Linked DNA regions of Homo sapiens: regions 1, 2 and 4 are each linked to region 3. Evidence: promoter capture Hi-C in 16 types of primary human blood cells and fetal thymus (Javierre and others, 2016). All regions are on one chromosome and are shown on one strand. Each heading gives the region's core, a stretch centred on a gene start or on the middle of the fragment in contact. The rest is flanking DNA. Distances are from core to core; before and after follow the strand shown.

Region 1 (4,612 bases), core at 433-2,932, 160 kb before region 3:
CACAGTGATGGCTGCACAAATTATTTTTCTTAGTTTTAAAGTTTTGTTTAGAGATAGGATCTTGCTCTGTTGCACAGGCTGGAGTGCCGTGGCGCTATCATAGCTCACTGCAGCCTCAACCTCCCGGGCTCAAGTGATCCTGCCCCCTCAGCCTCCTGAGTAGCTGAGACCACAGGCATGTGCCACCATGCCTGGCTAATTTTTAAAGATCTTTAGTAGAGATCGGATCCCAGGCTGGTCTTGTACTCCTGCCCTCAAGCAATTCTCCTATCTCAGCCTCTCAAAGTGTTGGGATTATAGGTGTGAGTCACTGTGCCTGGCCTTCAACTTTTTTTTAGTGGTGAATAGTAACTTACTAGTATATTGTAAATAATAGAACTAATAAGTGCAGGGCTCTCCTGTACATCAGAGTACCATATACCTACCTTGTGGTTAAAGACCTGGGTTTTGGATTTAGGCAAACTTGCATTCACATTCAGCGCCATATCTGTGCTGATCTTGGTGTGCTCTTGAGCAAGTTACTTGATCTCTCTGGGCCTTGGTTTCCTGAACTGTAAAATGGATAAAACAGAACCCTTGCCAAGAGTTGCTGGAGAATTGAACAAGGTAGGTGCATACTAGATCATGCACAAAAGCTTGGGGCATATTTGGTGCTCTCAAGAAGGGTTGGCTTAGCTGGGCATGGTGGCTCATGCCTATAATCCCAGCACTTTGGGAAGCCAAGACAGGAGGATTGGTTGAGCTCAGGAATTCAGGACCAGCCTGGGCAACAGAGCGAGACCCGATCTCTACAAAAAAATAAAAATAAAAAAAAACTTTTTAAGTTATCCAGGCATGGTGGCATGCACCTGTGGTCCCAGCTACTCAGGAGGCTGATGTAGGAGGATTGATTGAGCGCAGGAATTTGAGGCTGTAGTGAGCCAGGATTGCACCACTGCAATCCAGCCTGGGTGACAGAGCAAGAGTCTGTGGAAAGAAGCAAGAAAGCAAGAAAAAGAAAAGAAAAGAAAGAAAGAAAGGAAGGAAGAGAAAGAGAAAGAAAGAAAGAGAAAGAGGGAGGGAGGGAGGAGAGGAAAGAAAGGAAAGGAAAAAGAAAGAAAAGAAGGAACAAAGGAAGAAGAGAAAGAGAAAGAAAAAGAAACAAACATCAGGTCTATCTCATTTGCTCTTCATAGCAGCTCAATAAAGTAGAAGCATCTTACCATCTCCTTGCTACAAAGGAAGAATAGGACCCTTGGGGAGATGAGGCTACCTTCCTAACAGTGCTTGAGGAGTGAGGGGTTAGAGCCTAGGCTGGCCCCTGTATTAGTTCTCTGGGGCCACCATCACAAGATACCACAGTCCGGGTGGCTTCAGCAACAGAAATGTGTTGTCTCACAATTATTGAGGCCAGAAGCCCACAGTTCAGGTGTTGGCAGGGTTGGTGCCCTTTGGAGCTCTCTCTCCTTGTCTTGTAGATGGCTGTCTTCCTCCTGGGTCTTCATATGTCAGCCTCCGTGTGTGTCTGTGTGCTAATCACTTCTCCTTCTCCTCCACCTCCTCCTTCTTCTTCTCCTTCTTTTTTGAGACAGGGTCTCTCTCTGTCATCCAGGCTGGAGTGCAGTGGCGCCATCTCAGCTCACCACAACCTTCATTTCCCGGGCTCAAGCAATCCTCCTGCCTTGGCCTCCCAAGTAGCTGCGACTACAGGTGTGTGCCACCATGCTTGGCTGATTTTTGTATTTTTAGTAGAGACAGGGTTTCATCAGTTTGGCCAGGCTCATCTTGAACTCCTGGGTTCAAGTGATCCTCCCACCTCGGCCTCCCAGATTGCTGGGATTACTGGTGTGAGCTACCGTGCCTGGCCACTAATCTATTCTCATAAGTACACCAGTCGTACTGGATTAAAGCCCGCCCTGACTGGCTCATTTTTACTTAATCACCATTTTAAAGGCCCCGTCTCCAGATAGAGTCCCATTCGGAGGTATGGGGGTTAGGGTTTCAACGTATGAATTTTGGAGGAACATGATCAGCCCATAACAGCTCCCCTTCTCCTGTTATCTTGGGATTCTAATTCTGAAATAAGAGGAGGTTTAGATTTGCTGGGACCTTGGCCTCGGCTCTGGTTCCAGGGCTATGTCTAGACCACAGGGAAACACCCAGTCAATGAGGCGTGTTCAGAAGGAACAGGACAGCCTCAATAGCTTGTTCCAACGCAAAGCTAGGCCGACCGTCTTTACAGCCACCCTCACAGCCTTGGCAAGACTAGAAAGTACCAGTAAAACCGCATAAAGTGATGCTTGTTCAGACAGGTCCAAGCCAGCAGCACTCACCTTCAGAAGGAGATCTAGGAGAGGGGGAAAAGTATCTGCTGGCTACAAGGAAAGAACAAACCTTCAATTAATGACTCCCTGGGGGTGGCGGGGGTGATGACGGGGGCGGAGATGGCTAGACAGTAATAATTCCCATCCACAGTGGCTGTGAAAATCTTCTGGGATGTCTTGGGGAGGGCTGGGAGCGGGGAGGCAGACAAAAACAACAAAAAATAAATAAGCAGGATGATTTCAAGTGATGATGAGGTCCTGAAGAAAATGAGGCCAGGCCGGGCACTGTGGCTCACACTTGGAATCCCAGCACTTTGGGAGGCCAAGGTGGGAGGATTGCTTGAGCCCAGGAGGTTGAGACCTGCCTGGGCAACATAGTGAGACCCCATCTCTTAAAATAATAATAGTAATAATGGTAGATGAAAATGAAGCTTGGCTGGGCATGGTGGCTCCTGCCCATAATCCCAGCACTTAGGGAGACAGAGGCAGGAGGATTGCTTGAGCCCAGGAACCTGAGACCAGACTGGGCAACATAGTGAGACCCCATCTCTTAAAATAACAATAGTAATAATGGTAGATGAAAATGAAGCTTGGCTGGGCATGGTGGCTCCTGCTTATAATCCCAGCACTTAGGGAGGCAGAGGTGGGAGGATCGCCTGAGCCCAGGACTTCAAACCAGCCTGGGCAACATAGTGAGACCCCATTCTCACGAAACAAGAAAATGAAGGCAGGTGATGGGGAGGAGTGCTACTTTACAATGGATAGTGAGACAGTGTCTCTTGGAGAAAGAGGTGGCTTTTTTTTTTTTTTTTTAGACAAAGTCTCGCTCTGTTGCCAGGCTGGAGTGCAGTGGTGCGATCTCGGCTCATTGCAACCTCTGCCTCACAGGTTCAAGGGATTCTCCTGCCTCAGCCTCCCAAGTAGCTGGGATTACAGGTATGCACTACCAAGCCTAGCTAATTTTTGCATTTTTAGTAGAGATGTGGTTTCACCATATTAGCCAGGAAGTTCTCGAAATCTTGACCTCATGATCCTCCTGCTTCAGCCTCCTAAAGTGTTGGGATTACAGGTGTGAGCCACTGCGAGAAGGTGGCTTTGGAGCTGAATCCTGAAAGGCAAAAAGGACAGAGTTAAGGAATGAGTTATGGAAAGATGTGAAACTGGATTTCTCCACCTGGGCACTGTGGATGTTTGGAGCTAGATAGTTCTTTGCAGTTGGAGGAACTGGGCTATCTTGTGCTCCCTGTGCCCAATAGGGTGTTGAGCGGCATCCATGGCCTCTGCCCGCTGGATGCCAGTAGCCCTCTTCTTATCCCCCAGCCCCCAAGTCCCCACAACCAAAATGTTGCCAGATCACGTGTCCCACAGGAGGAAAAGTCAACCACTGACTGAGCCACAAGAAGGACGTCCCGCAACAGAGAACAATGACCATGTAGGACCCAATGTGGGAACGAGCTCGGCAGGTTTTCTTGGAACAGAAGTTTCCAGAAACAAAAGACTTCAAGCAGATGATAGCTGATGGGTGGAGTCCAGTGTGGGAGGAGAGGAGAGGAATGGGGAGAGGTGTATGGCCGGGGTGCTGGCAGGGAGCCTGGTGCTGTGGGAGGAAGGTGGATTTCATTCTGCATGGCAGGGGAGGACGCTGGAGGGACGTGGCCTAAAAGATCGCTCCAGCTGCTGGGGTAGGGGCCAGGGGACAGACTGGGGTTTACAAAAGCGTTAGTTTCCTGTGGCTGCAGTAACCAGTTACCACAGAGGTGGTGGCTTAAAACAGTAGAAATGCGGCCAGGCACGGTGGCTCACGCCTGTAATCCCAGCACTTTGGGAGGCCGAGGCAGGCAGATCACCTGAGGTCAGGAGGTCGCGACCAGCCTGGCTAACATGGCGAAACCCAGCCTTTACTAAAAATACAAAAGTTAGCCGGGCGTGGTGGCGGGCACCTGTAATCCCAGCTACTCTGGAGGCTGAGGCAGGAGAACCGCTTGAACCAGAGAGGCAGAGGTTGCAGTGAGCCAAGATCTCGCCACTGCACTCCAGCCTGGGTGACAGAGGGAGACTCTGCCTCAAAAGAAAAAAAAAAGAAAGAAGAAGGAAGGAAGGAAGGAAGGAAGGAAGGCACGCAGGCAAGCAAGCAAGAAAGCAAGCAAGCAGGCAGGCAGGAAGACAAGAAAGAAAAAGAAAGAAAAGAAAGAGAGAGAGAGAGAGAGAAAGAAAGAAAGAAAGAAAGAAAGAAAGAAAGAAAGAAAGAAAGAAAGAAAGAAAGAAAGAAAGAAAGAAAGAAAGAAAGAAAGAAAGAAGTGTGGCACCTC
Region 2 (4,317 bases), core at 1,548-4,047, 190 kb before region 3:
ATTATTGAGGCAGCATCTCACTCTGTCTCCCAGGCTGGAGTGCTGTGGTGCAATCTTGGCTCACTGCAACCTCCACTTCCCAGGCTCAAGTGATCCTCCCACCTCAGCCTCCCAAGTAGCTAGGACTGCAGGCACGTGCCACCACATCCGGCTAATTTTTTTTGTAGAGATGGGGTTTCACCATGTTGCCCAGGCTGGTCTCGAACTCCTGAGCTCAAGTGATCTGCCTGTCTCGGCCTCCCAAAGTGCTGGGATTACAGGCATGAACCACCGTGCCCAGCCAAGACATTATTCTTTTGTAAAGTAAACATAGTTGCTCTTAGCATATGGTTCTCAATTGATGGGGGTGTGTGTGTGTGTGTGTTTGTGTGTGTTCTCTCTGGAAAAGTTTTCTCTGGGAGAAAATTCTAGATTTCACTGTTTTACATTTCAAAGTTGCCAGTTTGTTAAAAAATCAGGCTGAGAAGGAACACGTTAGGACAAAAATGTGAAAGACTGTCATTAAAGCAAGCAAGACCAAGGATGGAATTTTACAGACTTTGCAGAGAATTCTTGGATCAACCTATGGACGCGGTGGCTGGTTTTAACAGGAGCTGCAAAGAGTCTAATCCCTTTCGTCACAAATGCATCTGGGGACAGAGCCTGATTTCCTGCTGCCCTTGGGGGACTTTTTAACCATTTTTTTTCTCCAAGTTTAGAGTATACATCAAATCCCAGGTCCACACTGACCCCTACTCTGGGCTGGAAGGGCCTGACCTCTCCCAAGAGAGTGGGGGTGGAAGAGAAGCTGGGAAATACAAAGTCATTTGATGGATGTGACACTGGGCACAGGTTGACCATCAAGCCAGGGAGGAGGCCTTTATGCCCGAAAGCCCCTGAGCCTGTTCCAGGGATGGGGTGAACCACTCCTCTACCCACCCAGGCTTGCCTAGGTGTGTCGTGTGCCAAGGAAGCTTCAGGGAAGAGAGAGGACAGAGAGGGGTTGGATGTCTAAGAGTCGTTTAGTAAAGTGAACAGAAAGCGAATGTTCCAGTCTGGGAAAGTAAAATCACATGAAAGAGGAAAGCGGATTGTCATAGAAGGTCGAGGCCCGGGCTAGGGAAGGGAAAAACCACATGCTCAAAATCCTGGTCAATGCGTGTCCACCTTAATGGGAGAGAAGCACCTTCCTCCATTGTGGGGCCAGGGCAGGGCCAGAGCCCCGGCTGGGAGTGGATCCTACACTTGCTTTTTTTTTTTTTTAATTATGGTAAAATATGCATAACATAAAATTTGCCATTTTAGCTATTTTTGAGGGTACAATTCAGTGGCATTTATTACATCAAAAATATTGTGCAACCGGGCTGGGCATGGTGGCTCACGCCTGTAACACCAGCACTTTAGGAGGCTGAGGCAGGCAGGAGGTCAGGAATTCAAGACTAGCCTGGCCAACGTGACAAAACCCCGTTTCTACTAAAAATACAAAAATTAGCTGGGTGTGGTGGTGTGCACCTATAATCCCAGCTACTCAGGGGGCAGAGGCAGGAGAATTGCTTGAACCTGGGAGGCGGAGGTTGTGGTGAGCCGAGGTTGCGCCACCATACTCCAGTTTGGGCAACAGAGCGAGACTCTGTCTCAAAAAAAAGAGAGACAGAGAGAGAAATAAACAAAATATTATGCAACTGTCACCACCATCCATCTCCAGAACTTTTCCATCTTCCCAAACTGAAACTGTCCCCATTAACCCTCACTCTCCATCCCCCTTATCCCCAGGCTCTGATAACCAACATTTTACTTTTTTTCTGTCTCTATCAGTTTGACTATTCTAGGTACATTATATAAGTGGAATCATGCTGTATTTGCCATTTTTTTTTTTTTGGAGTTTTGCTCTTGTTGCCCAAGCTAGAGTGCAGTGGTGCAATCTCGGCTCACTGCAACCTCTGCCTCCTAGGTTCAAGCGATTCTCCTGCCTCAGCCTCCTGAGTAGCTGGGATTACAGGCGCGCACCACCACGCCCGGCTAATTTTTTTGTATTTTTAGTAGAAACGGGGTTTTGCCATGTTAGCCAGGCTGGTCTTGAACTCCTGACCTCAGGTGATCCACCCACCTCAGCCTCCCAAAGTGCATGAGCCACCTCGCCCGGCCTTTTTGTTGTTTTTTTTTGAGACGAGTCTCACTCTGTCATCCAGGCTGGAGTGCAGTGGCACAATCTTGGGTCACTGCAACCTCTGCCTCCTGGGTTCAAGTGATTCTTGTGCTTCAGCCTCCCAAGTAGCTGAGATTACAGGCGTGCGCCGCCATGCCAAGCTAATTTTTTGTATTTTATTAGAGACAGGATTTCACCATGTTGGCCAGGCTGGTCTCAAACTTCTGACCTCAAGTGATCCACTTTCCTCCGCCTCCCAAAGTGCTGGGATTACAGGTGTGAGCCACTGTACCCGGCCATATTTGCCTCTTTGTGACTGACTTATTTCCTCTCCTCCGCTCCCTCCCTTCCTTCCCTTCTTTCTTCTTCTTCTTCTTTTTTTTTTTTTTTTTGAGACAGGGTTTGGCTTTGTCCCACAGGCTGGAGTGCAGTGGCATGATCTCTGCTCACTGCAACCTCTGCCTCCCTGGCTCAAGCAGTCCTCCCACCTCTGCCTCTCTAGAAGCTGGGACTACAGGAATACACCACCACACTTGGCTTTTAAAATTTTTTTGTAGAGATGAGGTCTCACTTTATTGCTCAGGCTGGTCTTGAACTCTTGGGCTCAAGTGATCCTCCTACCTCAGCCTCCCAAAGTGCTGGGATTACAGGTGTGAGCCACAGCGCCCAGCTGTGACTGTCTGATTTCACTGAGCATAATGTCCTCAAGGTTCCTCCATGCAGTAGCAGGTGTCAGCATTTATTTCCTTTTCAGGGCTACATAATATTTCATTGTATGGACAGACACATTTTGTTCATTCATTGGTAGGTGGACTCCTGGGTTGCTTCTACCTCTTGGCTATTGTGAATAATGCTGCAATGAACATGGGTGTACAAATATCTGTTGAGGACGGGTGCAGTGGCTCAGGCCTGTCATCCCAGCACTTTGGGAGGCTGAGGTGGGAGGATTGCTGGAAGCCAGGAGTTTGAGACCAGCCTGGCCAACATAGCAAGACCCCATCTCTACAAAAAATAAAAAAGTTAGCTGGGCATGGTGGGGAATGCCTGTAGTCCCAGCTACTTGAGCGGCTGAGGCAAGAGGATTGCTTTAGCCTGGAGGTTGAGGCCGCAGTGACCTATGATCTTGCCACTGCACTCCAGCCTGGGGGACAGAGTCAGACCCCATCTCAAAAAAAAAAAAAAAAGAGGTTAAAAAATCCCACAAATATCAGCTGGAGTCCCTGCTTTCAATTCTTTGGAGCATCTACCCAGAAGTGGAATTGCTGGATCTACATTTTTTTTTTTTTTTGAGACAGAGTCTTGCTCTGTCACCCAGGCTGGAATGCAATGGCGCGATCTCAGCTCACTGCAACCTCCGTCTCCCAGGTTCAAACAATTCTTATGCCTCAGCCTCCCGAGTAGCTGGGGCTACAGGCGCCCACCACCATGCTTGGCTCATTTTTCTATTTTTAGTAGAGACAGGGTTTCACCATATTGGCCAGGCTGGTCTCGAACTCCTCACCTCAAGTGATCCACCTGGTTCGGCCTCCCCAAGTGCTGGGATTACAGGCGTGAGCCACTGCGCCTGGCCTACCTTTGTTTTTGAAGTGGGTTGGGTGGGCCTGGGTTTCTCAAATCCCAGTATAGCACTGCATAGGATATATCACGGTCCTCAGTTCTCAGAACCTGGGTCTCCTCAGCTGTGAAAAGGGATAGTGATAATAGTGGCAATCACAGGGTTGCTGTGAGAGATACTTAAGATTTTGTAGAAACACCCACGCAGGCTGGGCGTGGTGGCTCACATCTGTAATCCCAGCACTTTGGGAGGCCGAGGTGGGAGGATCACTTGAGCACAGGAGTTCAAGACCAGCCAGGGCAACACAGTGAGATCTCCTCACTACAAAAAATATATATAAATTGGGTGGGCGTGGTGGTGTGCACCTGTAGTCCAATCTACTCGGGAGGCTGAGGTGGGAGGATTGCTTGAGCCTGGGAGGTGGGAGGTCGAGGCTGCAGTGAGCTGTGATTGTGCCCCTGCTTTCTATCCTGGGCAAAAGAATGAGACTCTCAGAAAAAAAAAAGAAAAAGAAATGATGACTTCAAGACCCAAGGAAAATTGCCCGTTAAAATTTTTTAAAATAATCTTTTAAATAAAAAATTTAAAAGAGAAACACCCATGTATCGTGTACATTGAACGGTGCCTGGCACCTGCT
Region 3 (4,859 bases), core at 1,150-3,649:
AGAAGTGAACCAAGGGTTAGACGCCAGAGGTTGGGCTTCTGTTAGAGTGGCTTCAAAACATGAGCCTTATGGGAAGTAGCCTTAAAAAAAGAATGGGTATACGCAGTGACTTCCGATGGAAATCTCCAAAACAATATTCCTAAGTAGCAATGGGGTTGGCTCAAGTCTTTATTAACAAAGAACATTCTCTTTCATCTATAAAGAAATTCTTAAAGATGCATTGACAGTGTTGAATTACCAACAGCCTGTGAAGATCAGTTTGACCGGTGTGGACACGTGCTGGTTAAGCACTCAGGCCTACGTGGGCCGAGCGGGATCTTGATCATGGGGCTGGTGTATGGATCCACCGTCGGATTCCGTCTGCAGAGGAGGACGTAGGGGGCCGTCACACCCACCAGGCCTCCCTGCTGTGCTTTAACACAGGCAGAAGAGGTTCATGGCAATATAATAGTCAATGAACTTTCAGTTTAAATTGTGTACATTTTTAAATTGTAAGATTTTTACTGTATATTGATGCATAGTGTGATTCAATAAATTGCTTGTAATTTAAAAACTATTTAATATTCAAAATAAATATAGTTATATATTTATAAACTCTGTTGGCCGCGTTTCTTCTGTGTTTTGTCCACCGTGCAAGGGCCACCTGGGTGGGTGGCCTGGCCCTGCCCTGCTGTGAGCGCCCGCAGCCTGTGTTCCAGGCCCCTGCCCTGGTCCCTCTGGAGCTTGTGTGACAGACCTAAACTCCCCGCACTCCTGAGGACATAAAGCTTTGTATAACCACTGGAAAACCAAACCTGTTTAGTGTTCCTGCCACCTTGAAGCATGTCTATAAACCATGCCTTTGCACTCATGAATTTCGGAAGCATTTTCATTTCCAAGGACCTCATTTGGCCCAGCCTCAAATGAGCTTTAGGCCAAGAGAAGAACTAACTAACCTTGGCTCCAAGCTAGCCTTTCTGTGCCCGCCCCCCGCCCCACTATGGCCCCTCTGAGTTCCCACCCAGAGGTACTGAGACAGAGCGGCGAGACCCATGAGTGTGGAGCCCAGGCCTGCCAGCCAGCGTGACACTCACCGCACCCCCAGCAGCGTGCAGTCACCGCACCCCTAGCAGCCCCGAATAGTCCCTGAGCAAGATGCTGCTTTGGCTGGGCGTGGTGGCTCACGCATGTAATCCCAGCACTTTGGGATGCCGAGGCGGGTGGATCACTTGAGGTCAGGAGTTGAAGACCAGCCTGGCCAACGTGGAGAAACCCCGTCTCTACTAAAAATACAAAAATTAGCTGGGCGTGGTGGTGCATGCCTGTAATCCCAGCTACTCGGGAGGCTGAGGCAGGAGAATCGCTTGAACCCGGGAGGCGGAGGTTGCGGTGAGCCGAGATCATCTCGCTCCATTGCACGCCAGCCTGGGCAGCAAGAGCGAAACTCCGTCTCAAAAACAAACAAACAAACAAAACAGGCGTTCCCAAGGACTGCACACCTGCCCAAGGAGCCCCCCACCCCCACCCCAACTCGGGCTCCGCCCCCAGCCCGTAGGAGCCCCAGGTTCCCCTAAACATCCCGGGCGGCGGGGCGGGGGATCCCCTGGGAGATGCCCGCGTTTTCGCGGAGCGGCTCGTCCCGGAGTGCTCCTGGGACTTGGGATCTGTGTGCTGAGCCTGAATCGGGGCTGCCCCTCCTTCCGGCGGCTCCCAGAGACCTGTTTCCCATTGGCGGAATGGGCCCGGGCCCCGCCACGAGTGGAGAGGCCGGGCAAGGAGGATCGCGGGAGGCATGGATGCGGGGGTGCTGTGTCAGGGGGAGGGTCGGGGAAAGCGGGCGGGGGGAGGCTGTCTCGGGCACGGATATGGGGTAGGCGGGTGGGAAAGGCGCGAGTGGAAATTGAGGGGGAGGATGGGGAAAAGCAGGTTGTGGGGAGGCTGTCGGGGGACGGGAGTAGGGGAGGTGGGGACGCAGGCTGTCTTGGGGGGGCTGTAGCGGGAGAATGGGGAGAGACGAATGGGGGGAAGCTATCTCGGGGCGGTTGGGGGGCTGTCGGGGGAGGATGGGGAGAAGCGTGTGGGGGAGGCTGTCTGGGGGAACGAGGGTCGGGGGCTGTCGGGGGATGGTGGGGAGAGGCGGGCGGGGGTGGCTGTCTTGGGGGACGAGGGTGGGGGGCAGTAGGGGGAGGATGGGGAGAGGCGGGCGGGGGAGGTTTTCTATCTTGGGGGCGGGGCGGAAGCTGGGGGCGGGGCTGCGCGGCCACCTGGTCCGGGAGCCCCAGGCGCCGGCCTCCCGCCCGCCCGCCCGCAGGTGCCGCCACTGCTGCCCAGCGCCCGCCGGGACACCCGGACCCCGGCCCCGCCCCGGCCCCGCCCCGAGGGCTCATTTGCATGCGTCCGCGGCCCCTCCCGGGGCGGCTAAAGCGACGTGTCCTTGTCCCCCGTGGGCAGCCTCGGCGCGTGTGGCCGCGGATCCCCAGGTAACCCGGGAGCTGGGAACTCGGGTGGGGCCGCGGGGAGGGGACCCAGGGGCAGGACCTGGCGGTGGGGTTGTGGGGGTTGTGGGGGCTGTGGGGAAACCCGGGTGGGGGACTTCTGGTCTGTCTGGAGGCTCCACGGGGCCCATCCACGTGGTGGGATTGGGGGCTGCCGCCAGGCCCTGGCCATTGCCGACCTCTGACCTCCACGGCTGCCCCATGTCCGCAGCGGTTCTGGCCCCAGTGCTGTCCCATGTCCGCAGCGGTTCTGGCCCCAGTGCTGTCCCTGCACGTGTCACGTCCAGCGGGGCAGGACAGTGAGAGCCTGGTGGCTGGAGTCACTGCCCGCCCACGGGATGAAGTCAGTGCCGCCTCCGGCAGAGGCGCCCCCTAAGCTAGGGTGGGGGACGCATTCTAGGCAAAGTGTCAAAGGTCACCGAGCTCAGGAGGCACTCTGGGGGCAGTGAGGGGCATGAGCCAGAGGAAGATCTAGGGGTCAGGATGAGTCATCCTGGGGGAAGGGGGACGCAGGGACAGGGACAGATTCCAGAGGTCTGTTTGAGGTAAAGCAAGGGCGTGGGTGTGTGTGGGGTCAGCCCAGGGCTAAGCGTGTGAACAGAAGGACCTCCAGTCGCAGAGCGCCAACCCCTGCCCCTGGTACCATTGCTGTCAGCAAGGAGGAGGCTGCCAGGGACGGCACCCCAGCGGGTCCCCTGCCCATGTGGGGTGACCACAGAGTGTCCTGTGTTCTGGATTTCAGCTCCAAGGGCCTCACCTTCCTGCCGCCACCTCCTAGGACAGCCAGTCCAGGGCCATGAAGACCAAGAACCGGCCCCCACGGCGCCGGGCCCCGGTGCAGGACACAGAGGCCACCCCCGGGGAGGGGACGCCCGACGGGTCCCTGCCGAACCCGGGGCCAGAGCCGGCCAAGGGTCTGCGGAGCCGGCCGGCCCGGGCCGCAGCAAGGGCTCCGGGCGAGGGCAGGCGCAGGCGGCCAGGACCCTCCGGGCCCGGTGGCCGTCGTGACAGCAGCATCCAGCGGCGGCTGGAGAGCAACGAGAGGGAGCGGCAGCGGATGCACAAGCTAAATAACGCCTTCCAGGCCCTGCGTGAAGTCATCCCCCACGTGCGCGCGGACAAGAAGCTCTCCAAGATCGAGACGCTCACGCTGGCCAAGAACTACATCAAATCGCTGACGGCCACCATCCTGACCATGTCCAGCAGCCGCCTCCCAGGCCTGGAGGGGCCGGGCCCCAAGCTCTACCAGCACTACCAGCAGCAGCAGCAGGTGGCTGGGGGTGCGTTGGGGGCCACGGAGGCCCAGCCCCAGGGCCACCTGCAGAGGTACTCCACGCAGATCCACAGCTTCCGAGAGGGCACCTAGCGCCCAGTCCTGGGTGGGGGTGGCGGTGGCCGCAGCTGCCTGGCCTGCTCCTCCCAGCCCCAGTCCCTCCAAGCCACGAGCCCCAGATGGGCGGTGACACCCCACAAGGACACGGCCTCAGCGGTTCCATTTTCCCCCGAACATTCAGCCACTTCCCTGGAGCAATTTTTCCTGCCCCGCTGGGGACCAGCGAGTGGCCTAGTTGCGGCTGTGGCCCTGGACAGCGGCGTGAGGCCCAAACCTCTAGGTAGGGCCCAGTTGGATCCTGATTTTTCATTGAGCCAGGCAGTCTCAGCCCGAGTTGAAAGGCCTCCTTAGCCTTGGAACTAACGTCTCTTCACCCTGACTTCTGGGCAAGGGGAGATCCCAGGAAAAGGTTTACCTGCAGGTTTTCCAAGGCCAAAGCCCCAGCAAGGACCCCCTCTCCAACCTTTGTTATAGGGCTACATGGGGCCTGGGCTCAGCATCCTCATTTGGGGTAAACTGAGGCCCGGGACAAGCCCGGCAGAGCCTAAGGCTGCTCGGGGAGTGGGGCCAATCAGAGATGATTGGAGCTGCCAGAAACTCTAATCAGATGACCTCCAATTCATCCTTAAAAGTTGAATGGTGGGGAGGGGCTGGAGTCTCTTCCTCCCTCCTCCCAAGTTGGGGCTCCTGGATGTGTTGACTCCAGGCTGTGCCTGGTTGTGGAGGGTCTGGGGCAGGGTGTGAGGGGTGCTGTGGAACTGGAGCAGGAGACAGGGCTGGGTGTTCCTGGTGCAGCCCTTCTGGGCATGGGAGAGAAGCCCCAAGGCCCTGGGTTGCTCCCCAAGAGCAGCTCTGAGGCCTCCTGCTCAGCCCTGGCCTGTGTGGGGAGCGAGTGTGCCCCCCACCCAGCCCCTGCCACCGCCGTTACTTATTCTCACTGATGTGGGGTTATCATATAATTGGCACCATGCTGTCTGTAGGACATTATGACGTGCTTGGGTTCTGGTTTGAGTTGGCAGCCCGTTGGGTCTCTCTGCCTGGTGGAGCCTTGG
Region 4 (4,863 bases), core at 1,066-3,565, 170 kb before region 3:
TAGATGGAGTCTCACTCTGTCACCCAGGCTACAGTGCAGTGGCACGATCTCGGCTCACTGCAACCTCCGCCTCCTGGGTTCAAGCGATTCTCCTGCCTCAGCCTCCCCTGTAGCTGGGATTACAGATGTGTGCCATGATGCCTGGCTAATTTTTGTAATTTTAGTACAGACAGGGTTTCACCATATTGATCAGACTGGTCTTGAACTCCTGACCTCCGGTAATCCACCCACCTCAGCCTCCCAAAGTGCTGGGATTAGAGGCATGAGCCACCGCACCCGGCCTGAAAACGTTTTCAAAAATAGTTTTAAAATGTCCATAACATAAAACGTGCCATGTTAACCATGTTGAGGCATACAGTTCAATGACATTCAATACTTTCACACTGTGATGTAACCGTCATCCACCTCCATCTTCAGAACTTTTTCATCTTTCCAAACTGAAACCCTGTCCCCATTAAACACTCACTCTCCATCCGCCTCCCCCCACCTCCTGGCACCCGCTGTTCTACTTTCTGCCTTTATAATTTTGAGACTCTAGGTAACTCATATAAGTGGAGTCATTCAGGATTTGTCCGTTTGTGATTGGCTTATTTCACTTAATACAATGTCCTCAAGGTTTATCCATGTTGTAGCGTGTGCCAGGATTTGTTTCCTTTGTAAGCTGAATAATCTTCCATTGTATGGATAGGCCACATTTGGTTTACCCATCCATCCGCTGGTGGACAGTTGGGTTGCATTTATCTTTTTTTTTTTTTTTTTTTTTTTTAGTCAGATTGTCGTTCTGTCACCCAGGCTGGAGTGCAGTGGTGCAATCTCTGCTCACTGCAACCTCCGCCTCCTGAGTTCAAGCGATTCACCTGCCTCAGCCTCCTGAGTAGCTGGGACTTACAGGCACCCACCACCACCATGCCCGGCTAGTTTTTTGTATTTTTAGTAGAGATGGGGTTTCACCGTGTTAGCCAACATGGTCTCGATCTCCTGACCTCGTGATCCGCCTGCCTCGGCCTCCCAAAGTGCTGGGATTACAGGCATGAGCCACTGTACCCGCAGGATTGTATTTATCTTTTAGCTATTGTGAATAATGCTGCTGTGAACATGGGTGTGCAAATAGTTTGAGTTCCTGCTTTCAGTTCTTTGGAATGCTAGCTCATAAGGTAATTCTATGCTGCCCAGGCTGGAGTGCAATGGCACAATCTTGGCTTACTGCAAACTCCACCACCGGGTTCAAGTGATTACCCTGTCTCAGCCTCCTGAGTAGCTGGGATTACAGGCACGTGCCACCACGCTCAGCTAATTTTGTATTTTTAGTAGAGATGGGGATTTCACCATGTTGGCCAGGCTGGTCTTGAACTCCTGACCTCAGGTGATCCGCCTGCCTCAGCCTCGCAAAGTGCTGGGATTACAGGCGTGAGCCACCACACCTGGCCCAAAAAAGTTTTTTTTAGAGACAGGATCTCACTATGTTGCCCAGGCTTGAGTGCAGCTCACTGCAGCCTCCAGCTCCTAGGCTCTAACGATCCTCCTCCTGCAGCCTCCCAGTAGCTGAGACTATAAGTACACACAACCAATTTTTGTATGTTTTTTTTTTTTTTTTTTTTGTAGAGATGGGGGCTCACTATGTTGCCCAAGCTTGTCTCAAACTCCTGGGCTCAAGTGATCCTCCCGCCTTGGCCTCCCAATGTGTTGGCATTATAGGCATGAGCCACTACACCTGGCCCTATTTTTGACTTAATTTTTTGAGGGGCTGTCAAACTATTTTCAACAATGGCTGTGCAATTTTCCATTCCCACCAGCAGTAGGCAAGAGTTCCAATTTCTCCACATCCTCACGAACACTCATTTTCAATTTTTTCTTGAGTGACCATCCTAATGGGTAGAGTGCTCTATCTCACTGTGGTTTTGATTTGCATTTTTCTAATGATTCATAATGGTGAACATCGTTTCATGTACTTATTGGCCATTTGTGTATTTTTGGAGAAATGTCTGTTCAAATCCATTTTTATCAGGTTTAAGAAAAACTGTTGAATTATAGGTGTTCTTTATGCATAATCTGGATATTAACCCCTTATCAGATACATAACCTGTGGGCCAGGCGTGGTGGCTCACGCCTGTAATCGCAGCACTTTGGGAGGCCAAGACAGGCGGATCACTTGAGGTCAGGAGTTCGAGGCCAGCTTGGCCAACATGGTGAAACCCCCCCACCCCGTCTCTATTAAAAATACAAAAATTAGCTGAGGATGGTGATGGGTGCCTGTAATCCCAGCTACTTGGGAGGCTGAGGCACGAGAATCACTTGAACCCTGGTGGCAGAGGTTGCAGTGAGCCGAGATCTCACCACTGCACTCCAGTCTGGGTGACAGAGCGAGACCCTGTCTCAAAGAAAGAATATATTTTTACAAGACATATATATATATATGACTTGTAAATATTGTCTCCCATTCTCCTGGGTTGCCTTTTTGCTATGACGATAGTATCCTTTGATGCACAAAAGTTTTAAATTTTGAGGTAATCCAATTTATCTATTTTTTGCTTCTGTTGTCTGTAGCTGTGCTTAATTTGTAAAAAGCCGTTTACTTGGAAACCACCATGGCTTTCTCCCACAAGCCTTAGAAACATCTCGCTATGCAGATCACTGTGTTTCTGCAGTCAGATCTTCCTTCCAAGTAATTGCTGTGGCTTCTGCCTCCAGTTCATCCCGGGAGATGGCTTTTTTTTAAAGGCCAGGCCATAGAGGCGGGCTTCTGAATGAAGGGGGAGGTTCGTCTGCACCCCACAAGGGGCCCACACAATCCTGAAGTCCCCGAGGTACCCCCTGTTCCAGACAGAATGCTGGCGTGCACCCTAGAAAGCCTCGAAACTGGCTCGTTTTGGCCACTTTTCTCCATTCTGGCACCAGGTCATTTTCTGCTGTAGACAGAATCTATTTTGAGCTGCCTTTTTTTTTTTTTTTTTTTTGGTCTCCTGCTTCATACGTGTGGGTCTCCCGTGGGCTTCACATCTGAGAAGCTTCTTTCTCTTGCCGAAATAGAGCCAGCCACGTGGGGAGAGCGGTTCTTGGGCACAGATGGCACCGTGGGGGAGAGGAGCCTGCTCTGGTTCTCCCACCCGTGCCTGAGGAACGATGCCAGCTTCCTGGCCACCCTTTGGAATCAGAAAGAGCTGGTTACAGAGTTCCTTTTATTTTATTTATTTATTTATTTTTCAGATGGAGTCTTGCTCTGTCACCCAGACTGGAGTGAAATGGTGTGATCTCGGCTCACTGCAACCTCCGCCTCCAGGGTTCAAGCAATTCTCCTGCCTCAGCCTCCGGAGTAGCTGGGATTACAGGCACCTGCCACCACGCCCACCTAATTTTTGTATTTTTAGTAGAGATAGGGTTTCACCATGTTGGCCAGGCTGGTCTCTGACTCCTGACCTCAAGTGATCCACCTGCCTCGGCCTCCCAAATTGCTGTGATTACAGGCCACTGCACCTGGCCCCTTTTATGTTTTTTTAATTAACTTTTTTTTTTTTTGAGACAGAGTCTAGCTCTGTTGTCCAGTGGTGCAATCACAGCTCCCTGCAGCCTTGACCTCCCGGGCTCAAGCAATCCTCTTGCCTCAGCCTCCCAAATAGCTGGGACTACAGGAGCACACCACATGCCCTGCTAATTTTTTTTTTTTTTCTTGAGACAGAGGCTTGCTCTGTTCCCTAGGCTGGAGTGCAGTGACATGATATCGGCTCACCACAACCTCTGCCTCCTGGGTTCAAGCGATTCTCCTGCCTCAGCCTCCCGAGTAGCTGGGACTACAGATGCCCACCACCATGCCTGGCTAATCTTTGTATTTTTAGTAGAGATGGGGTTTCACCATGTTGGTCAGGCTGGTCTCAAACTCCTGACCCCGTGATCCACGCGCCTTGGCCTCCCAAAGTGCTGGGATTACAGGCGTGAGCCACTGTGCCTGGCCCTCTTCTCTTTCTATAAAGGACATCAGTCACTTGATTTAGGGCCCTCCCTTATCCAGTCTGACTTCATCTTAACTTACATCTTAATGACAGCTAACAAGACTGTTTCCAAATAAGGTCACACTCACAGTACCGGGGTTAGGTCTCCACCTTATCTTTTTGGGGACACACAACTCAACTCACAGCAGATAAAGAGCACCCATCTTCCCTAAGAAATTCCCCACTGGCACAAACCCATCTTTCCACGTGATGCCAAGCCATCCTACGACCACGTCCTCATAATTTCTCTATAGGTCAAGGGTGTGTTTCTGTGCACAGTCGTGACAATAGCTTCCATTGATGAGGACCAATTGACTGCCAGGCCCTGGGCTCTAGGTGCAGTGATCTGCCTCCAAGTGAACCTTTATCAGCCAGGTGTGGGGGTGCACATATGTGGTCCCAGCTATGTGGGAGGCTGAGGCGGGAGGATCACTTGAGCCTAGGAAGTTGAGGCTGCAGTGAGTTGTGATCATGCCACTGCATTCCAGCCTGGGCCACACATCAAGACCACGGAGACCCTGTGTAAAAAGAACCTTTATCCACGTTGGATGGTTGAGAAAGCTGAGTGAATAACAAGTGACAGGAGCTGCCTTACCCAAGGCTACCTGGCCACTGAGAGGCAGGGCTGCAGGCTACAGAGTCCTATTTTTCTGTTATGGGGGGTCTGCTTGTTGGGCATTGAGGGAGCAGAGAGAGAGAGAGAAGGCAGGTGGTAGCGAGTGTGGCCATGTGGAAGGGACTCCTTGCCTGATCAAAGGCAGACCCAGGTTGGGTGACTTCTGACGCCCACTTCCTTGAGTCCACCCCAAGATTCGAACCCTAGATCTCCCAAGGAAAGGAGGATGATGGAGGAGGGAGGACTGCCTGGTCAGATGGTGTC

The links. The method cuts DNA at HindIII sites, captures the fragments that hold promoters and counts their contacts. A CHiCAGO score of 5 or more calls a contact.
Region 1: a contact is called between a fragment that was not itself captured here and the fragment with the promoter of BHLHA15 in region 3, in 1 of 17 cell types (neutrophils). The highest score is 5.1, in neutrophils.
Region 2: a contact is called between a fragment that was not itself captured here and the fragment with the promoter of BHLHA15 in region 3, in 15 of 17 cell types (total B cells, M1 macrophages, erythroblasts and 12 more). The highest score is 11.4, in total B cells.
Region 4: a fragment that was not itself captured here is called in contact with the fragment with the promoter of BHLHA15 in region 3 in 1 of 17 cell types (neutrophils); the score reaches 7.0 in neutrophils.

What each region holds. Positions count from the first base shown.
Region 1 is chr7:98,054,531-98,059,142 of GRCh38, forward strand. No RefSeq gene overlaps it. Among named protein-coding and RNA genes, the nearest start is that of LMTK2, 50 kb to the right of the region's middle. The HindIII fragment of the contact is 2,099 bases long and covers 634-2,732 here.
Region 2 is chr7:98,017,309-98,021,625 of GRCh38, forward strand. No RefSeq gene overlaps it. Among named protein-coding and RNA genes, the nearest start is that of OCM2, 29 kb to the left of the region's middle. The HindIII fragment of the contact is 3,693 bases long and covers 952-4,317 here.
Region 3 is chr7:98,209,040-98,213,898 of GRCh38, forward strand. It overlaps BHLHA15 (basic helix-loop-helix family member a15), which reads left to right and starts at 2,400. Exons shown (of 2, transcript NM_177455.4): 1 at 2,400-2,459; 2 at 3,217-4,859. The coding sequence starts at 3,271. The coding sequence ends at 3,840. It overlaps LMTK2 (lemur tyrosine kinase 2), which reads left to right. Exons shown (of 14, transcript NM_014916.4): 14 at 1-599. RefSeq lists a silencer at 2,272-2,461. The HindIII fragment of the contact is 21,052 bases long and covers 766-4,859 here.
Region 4 is chr7:98,035,882-98,040,744 of GRCh38, forward strand. No RefSeq gene overlaps it. Among named protein-coding and RNA genes, the nearest start is that of OCM2, 48 kb to the left of the region's middle. The HindIII fragment of the contact is 1,376 bases long and covers 1,628-3,003 here.